Regions from separate parts of the Homo sapiens genome. Here regions 2 and 3 are each linked to region 1. The links are contacts of gene promoters, found by promoter capture Hi-C in human tissues and cell types (Jung and others, 2019). All regions are on one chromosome and are shown on one strand. Each heading gives the region's core, a stretch centred on a gene start or on the middle of the fragment in contact. The rest is flanking DNA. Distances are from core to core; before and after follow the strand shown.

Region 1 (3,332 bases), core at 450-2,949:
AGAAAGTAGCAGCTGGTTTATTTCTTCTGACAACTGCGCGGGGAGGGGGTGCTCCTGCAAGGTCTCAGGGGTAAGGTGTTCCTTTTACAGTCGGACAGAGGAAGTGCACACCAGGCGCGAGAATTCTACAAATAAGGGTGTAGGGGGCGCACGGGGTTAGCCCAGTGGTGGAAGAATTTGTTGGATGTGGGGCAGGGGTGGTCTTTGAACACCGACCGGTGGGCAAAAGCCAACCTGGCAGAGCCAGGTCCCTGGATAGTTCATGTGCGTGAGGCATACATCGCGAGGTGGCAATACTAGGGCAGCCCAACTCCGTTTGCTCCCCCATTCTTTCACTTTTTACAGTTTGTGAGGCTCATGCGTCTTGGCGAGCTTGACAGCCGCGTGGGCCCTAAGTGTGTTCCCTCCTCCTGCCCCCGGTGCAGCCAGCGCCCGAGCCCCGGCCCCGCGTGCTGGTGCGGTGCCCGCGCCCGCGCCGTGCCTGCCGCCGCCGCCGCCGCCGCCACCACGGTCCGGGTTTTGCGGGCGGCCGGAGCTGTATTTCCAGCGCTGTCCATCGCTCGGTGCTGTTGGCCCTCTCTCCGTCTGATCCGAGCCGGAGCAGTGCGGGGCGCCCCACGGGATCAGAGCGCTCCCCCGCCGGGACTCCGCTCCTCACATCCTCCTGCTGGGACCCGGCTACATTTCCAGCCAAGCCTGGCTTTATTATGTGTCTCTGCAGTGCAGCCCCAGCAGCCGGATCGGGAGGAGGAGAGCCAGCGACCACAAAGAAGACAGGAGCGCGAGGGAGGCTGGCGGGCGGGCCGGCGCCGGCTGGAGCGCGGAGGAGCCGGGGCGCAGCCGCCGCCGCCGCTGCCCAGGAGGACGGGAGCCCGGCCGCCGCCGCCGCCGCCTGCTCGTCCTCCTCTTCCGCCACCGCGGCCGCCGCCTCCCCCCTCTCCGAGCCCCTGGCCCATGGAGGCAGCTAGCGGGGCCGGCGACTTGGCACCGGCCTGGGGATCGGCTGCGCGCCTCGCGCTGAGCACCGCAGCCCGAGGGCAGGCAGCGGCGGCCCGGCGCACGGGCTGAGCGATGCCCGGGGCACGGGCGCGCCTGCCGGCCGCCGCCTGAGCGCCCCCGCGCGCCCCTTCCTCCTCCGGGGGGCCGGCGCCGGGCCGATCCGAGAGCCAGAGAAGGGGGCGTGAGCCAGGGGCCCCGAGCCGCGGCTTCCGAGCCACTGCGGCCGTTTCGAGCCTCCCCTCCAAGTAGGCTGAGTTGAGGGACCCCCGCCCCCCATCCATCATAATCTCCAAACCAGGCGCTTGGGCATTTTTGAGCCATTAATATTTATTATTTTTTTTTGTGCGGCAGGGGATAATTCGAAGGCTTCTTTTTTTTTTTTTTCCTGGGGGGTACTGAGCTTCCGCGCTCCCGACCGCCTCCCGGTCTCCTCCCCCCTTGAGATACCCTCGACTCCAGCCCCGTTCCCCCTCCTCAGATGGGTTCATTGTGAGCTCCGCACCGGGCTGCGTGGCCGGACGCCTGCAAACTTTGCACAAAAATCCGGCAAGGGGCGGAGGAGGAGGAGAAGGAGGAGGAGGGTGAGGGTGGCGGTAGGGTGGGGGAGGGAAGGAGGGGGCCGCAGGGGCCGGGGGCCGGCGGGGGGTTGGGAGGAGGAGGGGGGCGGCTTTTTTTTTTTTTTTTTTTTTTTTTTTTTTGCATAACTCGGCTCGGCCGAGTGGCCTCCGGACTCCCCGCGCCGCTGGGACCGCCGCTTGGATCGGGAGCCCCGGACTGCCGCATTGCAACAGGCAGGGCCCCGGCGCGCCCCCCGGGCCTCCCCCCGCCTTCGAGCGGCCTCGGCCGGCCCGGGCTGCCCCCCCAAGGGAGGCCGCCCCGGACCTGCGGTCCGCTCCCCACAGCCGCCAACCGGGCTGCAAAAAAAAAAGTTTCCAAGAGACAGGCGGAGGAGAAGGGGGAGAAGGGCTGCCCGGAGCGGCGGGGGGCGGCGGGGGGAGCCGGCTGCGGAGGGCGACGGAGCGCCCGGAGCCCCGGACATGTCCAGGCGGAAGCAGGCGAAGCCGCGCTCGGTGAAAGGTGAGCGAGCGAGGCCCGGCGGAGGCGCGAGCGAGCGAGCGAGGAGGGAGGGAGCGAGGGAGGAGGGACCGGCGAGCGGGCTGGCTGCCGGGGACCCGCGCGAGCGAGCCGAGAGGAGGAGGAGGAGGCGGCAGAGGAGGCGGAGGCGGAGGCGGAGGCGGAGGAGGGGGAGGAGGAAGCCGGGAGCAGGAGGCGGAGGCGGCGGCGGCGGCGGCGGCGGCGGAGGGGGTACGCCGCGGACACCCTCCCTGCCCGGACTCGGCGCCGTCGCCCTTGGGGGACCCAGGCCTGGGGGCGCCGCTAAGGGGCCCTTGCCGCTCCCTCCGTGCGGGGCCCGGGCCCGTGTGGCCAATCAAGGGGTGCTGGCCCGACTTGGCGGGGATTGCGAATCTCGGCGGCGGCGGGCGGGCGACAGGAGGAAGGAAGAGGCGGCGAGGACGGGCGCCCGGCAGGCCGACCGCTCCTCGCTGGCCCCGGGCCTCGCTGGCTCTCTCTGGCCCCTGCCTGGTCGCCCGAGGACGCGGGGAGCGGCGGGCGCTGTCGGCGAGCGCCCCGGGCGCCGCGCCCTCGCCCCGGCCGCCTGGCGCCCCCTCCCGCCCCTGCCCAGGCCTTCTCCCGGCCCGGGCCCCTGCACTTCCTGCCTCCTCCACCGAGGCCCACCGGGCAGGGAGCCTCCGCCAGGAGTTCATTGTCTGCACGGCGCCGGCGGGACGCAGGTCCTCAGGGGAGCTCAGCGGCCGCGGTGCGCGCCCCTCCGCGGAGGGCGCCCCGGATCTGACCCCGGGCACCGGCACCCTGGATCTGACCCCGGGCACCGGCACCCTCGACACCCAGGCCGGCTTTCTGTGCTGGCTCCCCGGGGTGCGCGCGTTTGTGGGGAGCTGCAGATATATAGATACACACACCCATCCCTTCGTCTCCACGCTTTGCTTTCTATTTCCAGCGAGGGCCCCCAGCTCGAGGGGACCCCTGGAGAGTAGAGGCCCCGGGGAAAGGCCGCGCGCCGGCAGCAGAGCCCCTCCCCTGGCCTCCTCTCCCCGCGGCTGGCCTTTCCAGGCCTTGCCTGCTGCTTTGTCCCGATTCTAGCCCCTCGGTTGGGTGCCCGGGCGCTCGGCTGTGAGATGGGAGATGATCGAGGAAGGGGGGAACGATGAGAGCGGCTAAGTCTACGGAGCCAAAAGCCCCCAGGCCCTTGTCTTCTCCCATCTCCCCTGATGACCTCTGGCCTGAGCCCAGTTCTGCTCTGAAAAGTTCAT
Region 2 (3,332 bases), core at 260-2,759, 230 kb after region 1:
CACAGTTTCTACTCGTTTGCACCTGACATCTTTCACTTTTCACATTATTGCCTCTAGTTAGAGATCATGCCTCTCATTGGTGTATAATAATCTGTCACAGGAGCATGCCAACCACTCTTTATCTGTTTGATTCTTGATGGGCCCATTCTGAAATAGTGCTGGCATATTCATGGACATGTCTTCTTTTGTTTTGGTTTGGTTTGGTTTTTTTTGAGACAGAGTCTCACTCTGTCACCCAGGCTGGAGTGCAGTGGCACGATCTCTGCCCACTGCAACCTCCGCCTCGCAGGTTCAAGTGATTCTCCTGCCTCAGCCTCCCAGGCAGCTGGTACTACAGGCATGCAGCATCTCCCCTGGCTAATTTTTTTGTACTTTTAGTAGAGACAGGGTTTCACTATGTTGGCCAGGCTGGTCTCAAACTCCTGACCTCAAGTGATCTGCCCATCTCAGCCTCCCGAATTTCTGGGATTACAGGCATGAGTCACCATACCTGGCCCCATGTACATATCTACTGATGAACATATGTATGTGATTTTATTGTGATTATAGGAATATATAGATATTATATTTTGCGTTTATATATAATACATTATATACTGTTATATACTATATTCTTTATATGTGTAAATATGTATATAAAATGGGAATATAGGATTTGGATGGACTTGCTGAGTCACAGGTTAAATGATGTTCACCTTTAGTAAATGCTGACAAATACATTTCTGAAGTGGTTGTATGGACTTAACGCCCCCACCAGTGGTGTATGAGAGTTGGAGTTTGCTCCAAATTTGTACAGCCATCAAGGTTTTGTTTAAGGTTTGCATTGCAAAGGCCCTTCTTTAGTGAAGGTGCTCTCAGGGCAGGTATGGGTCCCCTGGTCCCTACCTAGCCACAGCATTGGCCAGTCCCCCTGACCCCCAACCTATCTGACAGCCTCTACCCCCAGTGCCTTGGAGCCAGTCTCCTGCAGCCACTGACTCCCAATCGTGTGTGTGGTGGGGCTCACCTGGCGGAGAGTGGGGAGGAGGGGCCCAGGAAGAGCAGGTGGGGGCTGTGGGAGCTTGGCCTGACAGGGAGATTGGTGGCTTCTTAATTTCTCCGTCTGAAAGCCCCCTGCTGAAGGATAAGAAGGGGCACTCCCCTGTCAGTCACTGGCTGCTGAGAGTCCTTTCACGGAGTGTCAGGGAGGTGAAGATGAAGATATCTAAAAATGTTTGCTTTTGTAGCAGATGTTAATGCGCGTTCCTGTTTGTAAGCATGAAGGGCGCAAGCCTGGCTAATTGGACTGCAGTGATTTCTGAGGTGTTTCTGCCCCCTCCCTCCTCTCTTCTACCTTGCCTTTAGTGCAGAGCCTGGAAGCTATGTGTCCTCAAGTGCAAGGCAAGGGGGTTGCTCTTAACTAGAGTTGTGGGAAACACAAAAGGAGGGTGTGAGGGGCATTTGGGCCTGTGTATGAGCTGTGGGCCGGGCTTCTGAGGGAAGGCGCCTTGGCTGGGGGGCTGGACAGGTCCCCTTGCCCATTCCTGCCCTGCAGCGCTGTCAGCTGACCTGGAGCCCAGGAACGTGGGAGTTGGAGGCCTGGAGAGCAGGCAGCAGGGAGTGGTTGGTTGGTCCCCGAGTGCAGATTCCAGTTCACTGCGGCATGGAACCCCGGGTGAGCCAGACCTCCGGTGGCTGGGCAGTCCCTCTCGCTCTAACCTGCACTCCCTACCTGCCTGCCCTCCCCGAGCCTCATCAACCCAGTCTACCAGAGGACCTTGACTGAGCACCTATGGCATGTTGAGAGTTGCAGCGGTCTCTGTGGGTGACGGGAGTACAGGGGACATGGTCTCTGCTTCAGAGATCATCCCATAGAAGACACTGCACATAGCATGCAGCAAAGAGGTCACATTGAATAAGGATGCTAACAGCTGCTACTGACTCAGCCTTTCTATGTGCCAGGCACTTTACATGGGCACTAGTTCCCCATCTGACAGATGAGGAACCCGGGGCTTAGAGAGGTTACGTGAGTTACCCAAGTCCTTCCAGCCTGAGTAATGGAGGCAGAGTCTGAACCACAGCTAGGGTCCCTCCATTGTGTTTGGAGCCCCTGCCAGGGCCTGTGGTGGGAGAGACCTCAGGGTTCCCTCTCCAGGGGAAGGCTGATGGGCATGCAGGTAACTGCAGTGCAGTGATGTGGGTGCTCCCAGAACAGGGCCCCCTGGGCATTGAAGGATGAAGAGGGGGGACGTTGCCTTCGGAGAGATGGCTGAACATCAGGAGGAGGCTCTGGAACAATGGGTTTCTGCCAGGCTGCGAGGGTGATGAGCCACTGCCTATAGCAGGATGGGGGGTGAGCAGAGCAGGTGAGTCTGGGGGGCTGTAGGTGCTTGGCTTGGCCAAGACTGAGGCATTGTGGGGAGTGAGAATGGGGAGGGGGTTGGGGTGAGCCATGGAGCACCTCCGATACCAAGTGGAGGGGTTAGGGTTTGTCCTTCACCCCGTAGGCCAGGGTCCAACTTTGGGGGCCCCTTGGCTATGGTTTACTAGGCTTCTCTTGAAAAACCACAAGAGGTGGCAGCAAGGGCTTCACATTCCCGCAATCATCATTCCCACCTGGCGTGACTTAGCAGCAGCAGCAGTTTCCTGTATGTAGGCAAGGCATGCATTCCCAGGCATCATGGTCTTGCTCAGTTAAGTCTCCAGCCTGGTCCCTGTGGGTACCTGAGTTTAAACCTTGGACTTAAGCGCTAGGGAGCCATTGAAGGTTTCAGAGCAGGGTATATCCTGGCCTGAGCCTTAGGAAGAAGAATCTGGCTGCGGTGTTGAGAAGGAACCAGTTGGGAAGAGAACGAAGACCCACCTGGTGTGGTCCTGGGGTGAGTGAACAGGGCAGGGGGAGAAGAGGAGTTGATGGAACTTAGATGTGGCTTGTGCTGTGATTCTGGCTGGCCCTGGTGGCTTGGGAAGGCTGCTGGGGAAATGGTGAGAGGCAGACACTGCAGGCCTGGTTTGGGGCTGGCTCTGCAATCCCAGTAAATCTTTTGGGGCCCAGTGTCCCAGTGGATGGCTTCTCCTGCTAAATGGTCTGAGCCCAGAGTGGCTGCCCTGCCGCTGACGGGGGTAAAAGTCCCCCTTAGTGGCACCAGGGGGACTTGGTGGGTAGAAGTGGCCCTGTTCAGCTCTGCAGCCTTCTCATAAACTCAGGGCACTTGGGGGTCTGAGGCAGGCCTCCCCTGGGACCCGGACTGCTGGAGAGCTCCCCTGCGGGGCGGTAAACCGGCCTTTTTATAGCGGGGGCCTCTGCATGGCTCTGCAGCCCGGAGACCCTGGGAGTTATGATGACTCAGGGA
Region 3 (3,332 bases), core at 475-2,974, 170 kb after region 1:
GGCCCAAACCTCCAGCGGCTTCCCTCTATGGAGCAAGAGGGCGGGCTCCTATGTCTTTTCTGTTGAAATGATTTCTCTTGCTCCTCCCCTTGATACAAAAGACCCAAGTCTGGGTCCAGAGTAAGTTATTTGTAATGCATTTTTAGAGTCCATATTGCAATATTAGCCATGACTGTCTGCTGTGTAGAAAAAGGAGGAGTTTGTGTTTGAAGTTTAATCCAGCTTCTACTTAAGCTCGGTCCCTGGGCAATCCTTTTTTCTGCCGCTGAGCTCAAACAGCCGGGCCTCAGGTTTGATCTGCTGCCCCACGGAGCCCTGCCCAATGTGAATTTGAAGAGTTTTTTTTTTTTTTTTCCCTCTCAACCAGGGAGACTTGCGAAAAAAAAAAAAAAAACCGCACCGTGGTCTGCAGCACCCGCTCCCACTGTGGGTCCCTGGGTCCCTCCTGGAGGCCCTCTGGCTGTTTTTTGGGAGGGCAGATGGGTTGGGACCCACCAGGACCTTCCAAGATGCAGCCGTGTCCCTCCCTTGGGGTCTCCAAGGAGCCCCTCTGAGCTCTCTCTGCTGGAGGACGTCAAGCACTGGGGAGTCTGGGAGTCCTGTCTCACATGTGGGGGGCAGAGAAAAAGGAGGGAAAAAAGGGAGGGAAATGAAAGGCACGAGTTTGTCGGGAACTGGTGCTGGCTGTGGAAACAGGAGCCGCAGCAGGACGGAACCTGGTGGCCTTCAAAACTTTTCTTCTCCCCTCTCTCCACATGACTCGGAGGATGCAGGCAGTAATTAAAGGCCCCCCTGGTTCCTCATTTTCTGTGCCCATGTCTTTGATCTGGCTCATGTTGGGCAGCTATTTTCATTGTTCCTGCCTTTCTTTCATTCTTTTTTGATGGCAGAAATGAAGATCTTTGATTCTAGAGTCGGAGGTGGGCAGGAGAGTGTTACAGGTCTTACATAATGCATCTTTCACATCTTATTTTTAAACGCGGGCATAATCAGGGCTGGGCAGAGGCTGGGCTTGGTTTGCACCCGTGTGTGGGGAGAGGCGGTTGCCTGCCCTGCAGTGCTAGCCCAGGGGTAGGTGGGGACAGGCAGTCCTGTGCAACTGAATGAAAATTACTAGAGGAAGCTTCCCCCACTTCCACCCCTTCCTAAATATAACCTGGAGGGAGTTTTTCCTAATTGTTCCCTTATGGTGAAAAATGTGTTGAGAGAGGGCAGGACAAGGAAGGCCCTGCCCACCCAGCCAGGGGTCTCTTGGTGGCGCCCTGGGAGGCCTGCCCACTGTTTATTAGTGGATGTTAATAAACTATAGGGGACAAACCACGGGGGTGGTGTATGAACAGTAACTCAGGTACCCAAGATGAAATAGGGGTGCTCTGCCAGATGTGGGGAGGTGGCAGACATGGAGGGGGTGTCGCCATCTGGTTCTTCTGTACACCCTTCCTGGGGCTTCCCTCCAGGCAGGAGACCCTGGGGCAGACAGAGATGAGAAGGTGAGGCCTTCTCCATGGTTAGGAACATGCGATCCAAGGTGGGATGGGGATGCGAGGCTGGTGCAGGGATCGCAGGTTCTGATGATGATGGGGGTTCTGCCTGGGAGGTGAGGAAGCATGGGTACAGGCTGGCGGGGCTGGTGAGTCGAGATCATGCTTGCTCCTCCATCTGTTCCTGTCCATGGCTTCTAGATTTCCAAGAGAAGCCAGTCACTTGGGTCTTTATGGGAAATCTCTTAGAGATGAGAAGAAGAGGTCTGCCTTGGTCAGGGGACAGTGATAGTAAGGTAGGTAGGAAGCCTGGCAGGTAGGAAGCCTGGGTGTGGTGGGAGAGGGGGTGATTGGAGCGTCCAGGCCACTCAAGTGTGGTGGGTCTGGCAGGAAAGGCTGGGAGGGCACTGACAGGGGACCTGCATCCTCCGTGTGGGGCGTACGCAGGCCTGTGTACTCCGAGTGGCTGCAGGGCTGCTTCCTGGCAGTGAGCTCCACAGGGCCAGAAGGTTTTTGTACATGATACCTGAGGCTTCATGTCACCTCCACTACGTGCCTGGTATTCATGACGGTGTGGTCCCCTCCTGCCCCAGCATGGAAGACAGAGCCTCTGTGAGACCCGCCTTGCACTTTGGATGATGCTAAGGAAGGTTGCGAGGCTGGCCTTCCTGCCTGCCTACCCGAGACTCAAGCAGCAGGACTTTCATAATTAATATGAATTAATGCATATTAATTGAGCACCTACTTTGTGCCAGGCTGTGTGCTGAGTGCTGGGCATACAACAGTGAGCTGGACAGGCCTGGACTCTCCCCCTGTGGAGCTTCCAGTCTGTGGGGGAGAAGGACAGCTAGACAAACCACCCCATAAATAGCTACGTTTATCTTCTAGGCGTGGAAGCATCTGGAAGGAAGAGCATGGGGCATGAGAGAGAAGCAAAGGCTTCTTTGAAGAATGGACACTGGAAACGAGGGCGAAACAATGAATAGAAATTATGGGGATAGCCATCCAGACGGAAGGTTTGAAGACTGCAAGTCAGGAGGGCGCTGGCATGTTGGGGGGATTGGTGGTAGGCAGCATGGGGGAGCGTGGTGAGCCAGCAGAGCGTGTGTACGGGTGGGACCAGGTGGGGCATTTGTATTATGTTCTAGGAGCAGTGTGGGTGGTGGGGGTCTTGGCATCCTCAGACTCATCCTTGGCAGAGTTCCTGCCAATGCCCTGTCAAGGACGGGCGTGGGCAGGTGGGGACATGGAGAGGATGGTGCTGCAGGCAGTGGGGACCGAGAACAGAGGGTGTGTGCGAGAGCCGTCCTAGGGACCACGTTGACAAGGTGTGGAAATGGATTAAATTTTGGAGAAACCCAGGAGGATCCCTGGTTTCCTGGCTTGGGCATCGAGGTGAACAGAGGGGTCTCTCCTGAAATACACAGCGCTGAAGGAGGAATAGGATTGGAGGCAGAGAAGTCTTTCCCCTTTTCTGACTGAACTGCACCAGGGCAGGGGCCTGGGGGACAAAGCTGGTAGGGACAGTGGGGTGTCAGTCCAAGGAACTAGACCCTGGCTGCTGCTCAGTCCCCTCAAGACCCCATGCTGCATGTGAGCAGGAACCTCCATTGCTCTATCCCTAGCTGAGCCCACCTAGTCCATGCCTGGCACACAGTAGGTGCCTTGTTAATATCTGTTGTGGAGACCTGCTCTAGAAGGCTGCAGATCAGTTAAAACTTGCTGGGATGGGGATGCTGCTTGATGGGGGAAGATTCTGCCCTGGGCTGCCTCCTCCTCCAACTTCAGATGTTGAGTTTTGGGGGCTGCTACCTTCCAGAGGGAGGCCCTGAGCTTGAGCTTGAGCTGTTG

The links. The method cuts DNA at HindIII sites, captures the fragments that hold promoters and counts their contacts. A contact is called where the count stands out against the background at its distance.
Region 2: a contact is called between a fragment that was not itself captured here and the fragment with the promoter of ZNF423 in region 1, in 2 of the 25 tissues and cell types used here (lymphoblastoid cells and mesenchymal stem cells).
Region 3: a fragment that was not itself captured here is called in contact with the fragment with the promoter of ZNF423 in region 1 in 2 of the 25 tissues and cell types used here (H1 embryonic stem cells and mesenchymal stem cells).

What each region holds. Positions count from the first base shown.
Region 1 is chr16:49,854,479-49,857,810 of GRCh38, reverse strand. ZNF423 (zinc finger protein 423) reads left to right here and starts at 1,699. Exons shown (of 8, transcript NM_001379286.1): 1 at 1,699-2,076. The coding sequence starts at 2,037. RefSeq lists a silencer at 2,196-2,455. The HindIII fragment of the contact is 13,140 bases long and covers 1-3,332 here.
Region 2 is chr16:49,621,433-49,624,764 of GRCh38, reverse strand. All of the region lies in intron 5 of ZNF423 (zinc finger protein 423), which reads left to right. Among named protein-coding and RNA genes, the nearest start is that of LINC02179, 160 kb to the right of the region's middle. The HindIII fragment of the contact is 3,324 bases long and covers 1-3,171 here.
Region 3 is chr16:49,685,117-49,688,448 of GRCh38, reverse strand. The region is part of intron 3 of ZNF423 (zinc finger protein 423); the gene reads left to right. Among named protein-coding and RNA genes, the nearest start is that of ZNF423, 170 kb to the left of the region's middle. The HindIII fragment of the contact is 5,543 bases long and covers 1-3,332 here.